Linked DNA regions of Homo sapiens: region 2 is linked to region 1. The links are contacts of gene promoters, found by promoter capture Hi-C in blood cells and fetal thymus (Javierre and others, 2016). All regions are on one chromosome and are shown on one strand. The core of a region is centred on a gene start or on the middle of the fragment in contact, and the rest is flanking DNA. Distances in the headings are between cores, read along the strand shown. Region 1 holds the start of KRTAP21-1 (keratin associated protein 21-1). Region 2 has its middle 24 kb from the start of KRTAP8-1.

Evidence for each region. The method cuts DNA at HindIII sites, captures the fragments that hold promoters and counts their contacts. A CHiCAGO score of 5 or more calls a contact.
Region 2: a contact is called between a fragment that was not itself captured here and the fragment with the promoter of KRTAP21-1 in region 1, in 1 of 17 cell types (neutrophils). The highest score is 5.2, in neutrophils.

Annotation. Positions count from the first base shown.
Region 1 is chr21:30,752,984-30,758,044 of GRCh38, reverse strand. It overlaps KRTAP21-1 (keratin associated protein 21-1), which reads left to right and starts at 2,617. Exons shown (of 1, transcript NM_181619.2): 1 at 2,617-3,030. The coding sequence starts at 2,667. The coding sequence ends at 2,906. The HindIII fragment of the contact is 7,815 bases long and covers 1-5,061 here.
Region 2 is chr21:30,786,385-30,791,599 of GRCh38, reverse strand. No RefSeq gene overlaps it. Among named protein-coding and RNA genes, the nearest start is that of KRTAP8-1, 24 kb to the left of the region's middle. The HindIII fragment of the contact is 9,732 bases long and covers 1-5,215 here.

The DNA of each region.
Region 1 (5,061 bases), core at 1,368-3,867:
CTTAAATGAAGTTGATAGTGTCTCAGTGTAAGTTCTTCCAGTATGGTCATGTGAACGGGAGTGCAAAAGGAAGTGAAGAGCAGGAGCTTGCATATTTACTTAATTCCAACAGGACCATACTGCACATAGAATGTTATTGGCAGCTGTTTGCCCCACGGAAGAACCAAGGAGAGAGGGAAATCTCAGGTCAAGGCAAGCTGCTCAGTTCTGCATAGCATCTCATTTCTGCTAAGTTCTGTATCTTTCCTATAATACCAATAACTAGGAGCAGGTGTCTGTGTGATCACTTCCCACTACTCTAACTCACCTGGATTATTACAAGGACCATCAGTCATTATAAATGTCTAAAGAACCCTGATAAATGACATGGGATTCTACTCTTAATTTGTATTATGGATGGATAAATGTTTCAATCCTTTAGTGATAGGAATGCAAAGTTGAAGTTTATTGAAAAATATTTTTTCCCATGAATCCTTTGCTTATCTAAGTACTTTCAGTATACCAGATGGATATTCTGTATCCTGCAAGTGGAGAGATAAGTTGCTTGCTCATGTAAATTTGCAGTTGAGGTAATGGATGGTAACATATATATAGTTTTATACATGAATACACACATATATACATATACAACAGATACATAAGTAACAGGTCCAAGCACTAATTACAGGTATCCTCTTGCAGAATCACCATGGCCCTGCTATGACTATAAAGATAAAATTTGTAAAAATATTAGAGAAAATAAAGATGCCATACACATTAGACAATTTTGGAATGTCGTATAAATTTTATGGCTCAACACCAATTCCTGAGTTCTGACCATGTTTTCAGCCTCAGTAGAAAAAATTTTCTTTGTGGCACCAATATCATGTCTACAGTCTTACCTAGACTAGACCCAAATTGAAGCTACAGTCATATCTAGACTAGACCCAAATTGAAGCTACAGTGGCTTCAGTTTGGGTCTAGTCTTTGACTCCTATTGACTCTTAAGTTCCTCTTATGTAAAATGTGGATTGGGTCTCAGGTTTGCCTGGAATTTCTACTGTGAAAGGTATAGTCTCTTTCCTCAAGAATATCATGCTTTTATTAGTAAACAGGATAAAGTTTCACCAAAGCATGACAAATCTATTATATTCGTCTGCATATAGGAGCAAACAAGAGGATCCACTTGTGAAGTAGAATTTATAGTTTTGAATTTCAAGGATGAAAAAACAGAAAGAAACTAAAGGAAAAGAAAAAATTGAGACAGAGATCTATTTATGCTTTTTTTAAGGGACTAAACATAGCAGAGAAATGAGATGAGACGAGTGACAGATAGCAGAAAAAAAAGGAAAGATTTCCAACTGAAGGGAAAATGTAATCCACAGTAGCAATGAGGAAAGGCATCCTGTAGAAAGTGATTCCAGATCTGACTTTTGATGTATAAACAGAAGGTTTTTTTGGTTGATAATTGAGGGTGATGAGAAAAATACTAATGGCAGAAAAAATGATACTAATTTTCCTCTTTTGTATCTTGAAAAGGTAAGTGTGATAGAGAGGATTGTTGGGAAGAAGGAGGGCACCTCGGATTTCAAAATCACGATGAATATTTTTGTAGAAGATTGAGAACTTGTAATAAGTGGGTAATTGAGAATTTTGAATGAGTAGTGTGAAATGCGTGTATGGAAACGGGACAAAATTTATTTTTGTGCTACTTTATATCATAGAAGGGTTAGTTGTTAATGGTGGGCTTTTGCTGTCAGTAACCTAAAATTGTCCACTATCCTTTAGCTTCTGAAGTAAATGTCCAAGGAATAGTAGTGAAAGGAGAAGAAAAATGGTTTATTAAATTCTAGGAATGTATCTGTATTTCATCATGCAAAACTTTGATGAAATCTGTATTGGAGGAAAGAACTGAGTTTCTGGTCGAATGAATTTTTTTACTTCCTTATCCAAATGAAGCTGTTTAGTTTTAAAAAGGCTCCTCAATGACAATTACTTATATAGCTGAAGAAATGGGAGACAAAAGGAGGGCTTCTCTGCCTCCCCAGGGTCTTGGTTTGCCTGGTGGATGGAAGGAAAATGTAGGAAGCACTTGCAGATAGCATACATTCTGGCTTTGAATGATCAGATGTGAATATGTTTCTTGGGATTTGAGGGAGGTTGGACAAGGGGTAGGTGTGGAAGTGCAGAGTGAGTTGGAGAAAGAAGTCTGGCAAGAAGTTGTAATGACTCAGGAAAGGAGATAGGAGTGTCTCCTTCCCTATGGGTAGAGGTAGACATTTTAGGAAAAAAGAGAGGAAAAAAAGGATAAAATTTTGTTATTATCCTCCCAAAACTTGTTATGTAAGATATAAATTTACTGATAGGAGATTTTGAAAATTAGTATCAGCTTTATATTTGGGCACATGATTTCATTGAGGCAGTTCTTTGGCAGAGCAGATTAAAATGATGTTCCTGAAATGAAACTAGAGTCTCCAAAATAATTGGCTCATTTTAAGCAAAATATTATTGATGGTCAACAGTGACTGGCACATAATAATTGATTAAATATTTGTTGCCTAAGTCAGGGAATGAGTGATATGCTTTGGCAATTACTGACAGTATATAAAGGTCTCAGGGAAGTAGAAGACATCCACACCTCAGAAGCATCTTCTTGAAACCCATCTCAATTCTCTCCTCTTGACAACATGTGTTGCAACTACTACGGCAACTCCTGTGGCTATGGCTCCGGCTGTGGCTGTGGCTATGGCTCTGGCTCTGGCTGTGGCTGTGGCTATGGAACTGGCTATGGCTGTGGGTATGGCTGTGGGTTTGGCTCCCATTATGGCTGTGGTTATGGAACTGGCTATGGCTGTGGATATGGCTCTGGCTCTGGCTACTGTGGCTACCGGCCATTTTGCTTTAGAAGATGCTATTCTTCCTGCTAAAACATCACTGTCGGAGGACCATTTGCTTCTAAAATGACACGTCTGAAGATAATGCTGATTCAAGGATTCGTACTCCAAGATTTCTATATCCAAGAATTACATGCTTGACAGAATCTTCGACCTCTAGCCTCACATTTCTTTGAATGAAATCATGGCCATAGGATCCATGGTGTCATCTGACTGTTTTCCAAATGTTATCTTTTGCTCCCTTAATCTCTGATTCTCTGTTATGACTGTGTTAATGATCATAACATCTACAGTTGCGGAAGTCAATCATTTGTAATAAAAATGGTTCTTTATTCCTAAAAATCTTTGTGTACTTGCTTGTGAATTACTCTTTCTTGGGGTGTTTTGGAATCTCTTGAAAATTGGGCTAACAGTATGTTGGCTGAACCTTAGGTACTTCCTTGATATAACGCAATTATTTCCTCTTATGCTTGCATCATAAATAATGTCTTCTCTACCTGCTTCTCATATCCCACATGCTCAGGTTCTCACATACCCAAGCACAAATCACAGAGTATTTCAGAACTGTGCTTTGGAAATGGCACTGAGTGTCTAGAATGGAGCTGGAGGGGGAAAGGGAGGCAAAGTGACACCTATTCAGGATGTTATGACAAAAGTCTCAGGGAGGAGATATAGCCTGAGTGCTTAAAGAAGTAATATAATCCCAGCACTTTGGGAGGCTGAGGTGGGTGGATCACCTGAGGTCAGGAGTTCGAGACCAGCCTGGCCAACATTGTGAAACTCTGTTTCTACTAAAAATACAAAAATTAGCTGGGCTTGGTGGTGCGTGCCTGTAATTCCATCTACTCAGGAGGTGGAGACAGGAGAATTGCTTGAACCCTTAGGAGGTGGAGGTTGCAGTGAGCCGAGATTGCTTGGGTGACACACTGAGACTCCATCACACACACAAAAAAAAGTAATGCAATAGGAGAGATCACTTCCAGGATTGTTGAAAATTTTGAGTCAGGGTCAAGTGTTAGGCAAGAGGAAATAAAAACCTAAAAAAGGGTAAGTTCAAAGAAAAAATATACTATCAAATGTATCTACATCTGACAAAAGTACAAATATATATGTTTGCTTACATGGAGGTTGAGAAATGCTATTTAATTCACTTAAATATTTTTGAATAGACACCATCCTGAAGACACAGAAGAAAAATTATAAGCAAATGTTCTGCTCTCAGAATGTTTATAGTCTAACAGATGAAGATTTAAAGAAGCAAAAATAGGCCAGATGTGGTGGCTCATGCCTGTTAATCCCTGCACTTTGGGAGGCTGAGGCAGGTGGATCACTTGAGGTCAGGAGTTCGAGACCAGCCTGGCCAACATGGCGAAACCCCGTCTCTACTAAGAATACAAAAATTAGCCAGGCGTGGTGATGGGCGCCTGTAATCCCAGCTACTTGGGAGGCTGAGGCACGAGAATCGCTTGAACCTGGGAGATGGAGGTTGCAGTGAGCCAAGATTGCGTCATTGCACTCCAGCCCGGGCAACAAGAGCAAAACTCTGTCTAAAATAATTAATAATAATAATAATAATAATAATGAAGCAAAAACTAATTATAACAAATTCAGACAGATAATTGCTATAGAGGGAATGAAACAGCTTAATGGAGAGGAGATTAAGGTTTGAAGTACTGGAGAGACAGCTCAGGGAAGTATCTTGAGGTTATGACATTTGAGCTCATAATACAACATTTCCAGCAGCAAAGAAAGACTAAAAAGGACAGTAGCAAATGCCAAGGGGGACAGCAGTTCATTAAGTTTTGGGTATGATGAAGGTGATGACACATTTTTCAGTTAGAAAAGAGCAAGGTCTAGTATCTTAATGGAGTTCTTTTTAGATTGGGGTGGTCATAAAAATGAGATTAAAGGGTCTGTTCTAGTTTCCTGGCTGACTTTCTGATGTGGAGTGTTTACTGCTTCTTTGATTCTGATTTTAGTGTCCTTTCCTCCAGTTCTAGACCATCCAAACTCTATCACTGAAATCTTACAACAGAGAAAGTCTTCTGGATTCAGTAGAAACTTGTTATAATCAGCAGTAATAAATGTGTCCCTGTTTCATCCACACAACAGGGACCATTACACCAAGTCTGGCTCTCTGAGGTCCCTGGAGCTGGGTGACCCCACAAAATGCCTGGCTCTAAGAAAG
Region 2 (5,215 bases), core at 684-3,183, 34 kb before region 1:
ATTTAGTCGAGAAGAGAAACAAAGACACATTAAAGATTTGGTGAGAAATAAAAGATTGTGCATTACTCGGTATTATTTGTAATTTGGACTACAAGTACATTGGGATTTACACAAATTGCATATATATGAGTTATTTCAGGCCAGACGGACACTCAATTTTCTAGAAAATATTTTTTAGTATGTCATCTCCCTTTTAAATTTCTCCCTCGACTTCTCCCTTCAGAGCCACAATCTTGAAATGGCATTTCACACTGCCACTGCCTCACTTCCTACTCCCTCTTCAATTTATAGCAACTGAATCAACCTTCAACACTTCCCTGAAAACCTTTTTCTGTAAGATCATCAAAGAAATTCCAATTTATCAGATTCATTAACTATTTCTCATACCTCATGTCACTTTTTCCTCTGTAAAACACATGGAAACAGCTTTAAAAATTTTCTCTTCCCCAGAGTTCCATGATCATGATGGTCCTCATTTCCTTTTCCTCACGGATTCCCCTTCTGCATCAGCCCAGGCTAAGTTCATCTGAGGTAACCGACAACCTTAAAATTTCAGTGGCTTCTCCCAACATGAATTTATTACATATTAATGTAACATGCCCATTGCAGGATGTCAGAGGTGTGTTGTTAAAAAGTGACTTAGGAATCCCGGGGGCTGGAGACCCATCATGTACTGGCAGCATCATCTGCAAAAAGACTGACTTCCTTTGTCTTCGGTGGAAGAAAGAGAAACTAGAGAATCACTAACGCTGTTTGAAAGACGCACACATCTCTTTCCCTTATATATAACTGGCCAGAATTTGTCAAATGGCCCTATCAAATACAAGGCATTTGGGTGCCTACAATAAGAGAATATGAGATTGGTGAACACTAATAATATCTACCCTTCTCATAAATGCCTTCTCTTATTTCTTTAAGATAGTATCTAAAATATGAAATTAATATTTAATTAGATGCAAAGAATATAATTTCTGGCATATTTCAAATGTCGGCATCAGTCCGCTGTCTCACTGCTATAAAAAACTAGCAGCTGGGCACTTTATAAAGAAAAGAGTTTATACTGGCTCAGAGTTCTGCAGGCTACACAGGCTGCTGTTTCAGGGGAGGCCTCGGGAAACTTACTATCATGCTGGAAGGCTACTGGGAAGCAAGTGTGGTTTATATGGAAGGGGAACGGGGAAGAGAGAGTGAAAGGGAAGGTCCCATCGCCTCCCACTTGTTCCCACCTCCAACACTGGGGATTATAATTCAGTATGAGATTTGGTTGGGGACTGAGCCAAACCGTATCAATATTGTCACTTTAAAATAAAATTATTACCATACTTTAAAAATCTACCAGTAAAATGTAAGTATAATAGCCATTTGCTGTGCACTACTATTCATTGAAAAATCCTTAAGATCTTAAAAGAAATCTGCATCTTTTTTCTTCCTTGAACTTATCTTTCCATTGTCCTTTTCCCATAGAGTATTTTACTAATGAAATATATTTTTATAAGTATTTTATTAACTACTCTATCGTGCATCTTCTCAAAAATATTCACATAAAGATACAATTATAAATTTATAATGTATTTTTCCATACAACTTTATTTATTAATAAATTTTATTTCCTGTTCCCACAAAGCTATGTCTTAAAATTGTCCTTTTGGATTAGATTGTTGTTCAGTCAGCTAAGGCTACCGTAACAAAATTTCACAGGCTCGGTGGCTTAAACAACAGAAATTTATTTCTTACCATTCTGGAGGCTGGGAAGTCCAAGATCAAGGTGCTGGCAAGGTAGGTTTCATTCTGAGACCTCTTATCTTGGCTTGTAGATGGCCATCTTCTTGCTGTGTCCCCACATGGCAAAGGGAGAGAGAGACAGAGCGAGAGAGAGCACAACCCAGTATTCTATGAAATCTGGGCCCCCACGTTTGTCTTTATGGCCTCATTTAACCCTAATTACCTCATTACAGGGCCTCTCTCCAATGATAATAGTATTGAGGGTTAAGCCTTTAACATGTGAATTTTGGCAGGAGACACAATTCAGCCCATAGCAGTTATCATAATTATTACTACATTTCATTGATATTTAGGTGCATATGTTTTCACATTTTAATATTTTGGAAATTGTGTGCATTTAACAAGTGATGTGTGCCACTGCATTTTCTTTTTTAAAAATTTTATTGTGTGTATTTGAGGTATACAATGTAATGTTATGGGATACATGGAGAGAGTAAAATGGTACTACAGTGAAGCAAATTAACATAGCCATCATCTGACAAAAATATCCTTTTTTTTGGTGGCAAGAACAACTAAAATCTAATCATTTAGCAGAAATTCCAAGTACAGTACAATTTTATTAGCTATATTCCTCATTAATTGTTACCACAGAAGAGGGATAGAGGAAATGGGGAGAAGTAGGTCAGAGGTATAAAGTAGAGGATATGGGGGACAAACAAATCTAAAGGCCTAATGTGTACCATTGAATTTCCTTAATGGTGAATAAAATAATTGCATGCTACACATTTGGTGGAGTTTAGATTCGATAAAATGTAGCATAATGCATCATGCATCAGAGTGTCATAAAAATATTACAAATACAATAGTTACTAAAATATTAATAAAAATTGATATATAGCTCAATGATGAGACAAAAATAGATAGCTTTTTATTTAAAATTTACTATTTCACAGATTCTTGAACAACTATTCTTTGCTAGAATGAGATAAATTTCAGCATCAGTCCTACTCCTAGCTTTAGATCTCTAGATAGAAAACATCGGCGGCCTTGTTTCTACAGGTAAGCAGACAAAATGGAGGAATTTTTGTTACAGCAATTGTGCTTGATTGTTTGACCTCTCCTGAGGTGTAAGCCAAAAGTAAATAATTATCTAACAACAAAATTATTTTAAATGATCTATTAATTGAAATGCAATTATCATTCAATTTCGTTGAAAGTAAAGTTGGCAAAATAACCCATTACCTATTTATTCAGTATATGGCTACATAATTTCTGAGAATTCTGCCTGCAATGGACTAAATATTTGTATCCCCACAGAACTTATATGTTGAAATCTTAACCCCCAATGTGGTGATATTAGGAGATGGGACCTCCTTTGGGAGGTGATTAGGTCAAGATGGTGAAGCTCTCATGAATGAGATTGTTGCCTTTATAAAAGGGACTCTAGAGAAGTCATACCCTCTTTCCACTGTGTGAAGATACAATGGGAAGACTGTGGTCCACACTCCGGAAGGGGGTCCACACCGGAACCCAACCATGCTGGCACCCTGATCTCAGATTTTCAGCCTCGAGAACTGTGAGAGATAAATTTCTATTAGTCATAAGTCACCCAGTGTATGGTACTTTGTTATAGCGGGCCAAATTGACTAAGATAATGCCAAAAAAAACTTTGTTGAGACTCATCAATTGACTATTAAGTAGTCCTATTACCCTCTAATTTAGACCCTGCTCAAGGAGACAGAATTAGACAAAACAGGCACCACCCTACTCCCCATAAAATTGGCAACTATGTAGTTTAAGGTTGTTTTTACCAGTAGTTTTGAACAAAATATATTCGAATAAACCCATTTATTTTTGGGCATCTCATAATGCCCTAGAGAGGTATGACTAATAGGCAGAAACAATTATGAGAATGGCCATAGATTCGTAATTTTATTTAATGGTGAATCATTGTTAAGTTTATACTTACGAATTTCACAGAAAAAAAAGGACATATCTGTATCTGGATGACGGAATTCTTCCTGGCCGAAAGCTGCAGCGTTTTCTAGATTGTACTTTGGGAACATGTTATTCTGCACTCTTACATAAGCAGATGCTCTGTTTTATGATAAAAATTAACAGAAAAAGGAAGATAATGTATTGACTAGGTATACACAGAATAAATTTAACATTTACTTTGGCTTCAGCTTCTGGAATTCTGAAGGACCTCATGTCAACTCCAATCTTATTCTTGATATCTCTGATCTTTTCATTATTCCTGGTCATATGATGGTTCCAAGCAGTGTGACAATGTCAGTTTTACAAAGAATGTTGTTACAATTTATAGTTATTATCTGAACATTCACTTTCAAATATAAACAAGCAGTCCAAAGGTAAATTGGACTGTTCATGGTTTTTTTTTTTTTTTTTTTTTGAGACAGAGTCTGGCTCTATCGCCCAGGCTGGAGTGCAGTGGCGCTATCTCGGCTCACTGCAAGCTCCACCTCCCGGGTTCATGCCATTCTCCTGCCTCAACCTCCCGAGTAGCTGGGACTACAGGCTCCCGCCACCACGCCCGGCTAATTTTGTTTGTATTTTTAGTAGAGTCGGGGTTTCACCGTGTTAGCCAGGATGGTCTCGATCTCCTGAACTTGTGATCCGTCCGCCTCGGCCTCCCCAAAGTGCTGGGATTACAGGCGTGAGCCACCGCGTCCGGGTGTTCATGCTTTTATATATTGAAATGCTAATCTGCTAATTGGAGTATTCATGATCATAAGAGAAATATGCCACAGTAATTAGTGACAACTGTGATTTTTGAATTAAAATTATTAAGAACAGATACGTATTTAAAGAGATGCCTACATTGAGGAGTGATCCAACTATTAGGAGAGCTTATGCTATCTAAATCAATGTTTCACGAACTTTAAGGTGGATTCAAATTATGTTCAAATCAGGTTTTTGTTAAAAACCAAATTGGATTCACTGGATCTGGACTGGAGCCTGAGATTCCTCTTTTCCAACAAGCTCTCAGGAGATTTCCTTAGGTATGACCCTGAAGCACAGATTTTCTTCTAGAGTATATTTATATTTTAATTTTACTTAAATTTTTTTTCCTGAATTATATTCTGTTTGCCAAAGGATTAACAATATAACTAAATATGCTATTCCTGTATTGTGTACATTAGGAACAGTGTATATTGCATACATACAGAAACAATAAAATTTTTTTTAATTTGATAAAATGCTGAGTTAATGATGAAACTTATCATGATTTTATTTACTCCTTTGCTGATAAATCTCTACAACTCACATGATGAGCAACATTGTGAATCTGGTGGCAACATATATTTGCAGAAAGGAAACTCAGCAAGGAAAAGTGATTGCAATTGCAAGTGACAATGGAGGAAAGATGATGGAGGCCATGAGTCATTTGGTAATTATGTGCATTATGATTTCTCTTCTCATTCTTCAGTTTTGTGTTCAGGGCATAATTACAGCACTAGTAGAATAACAG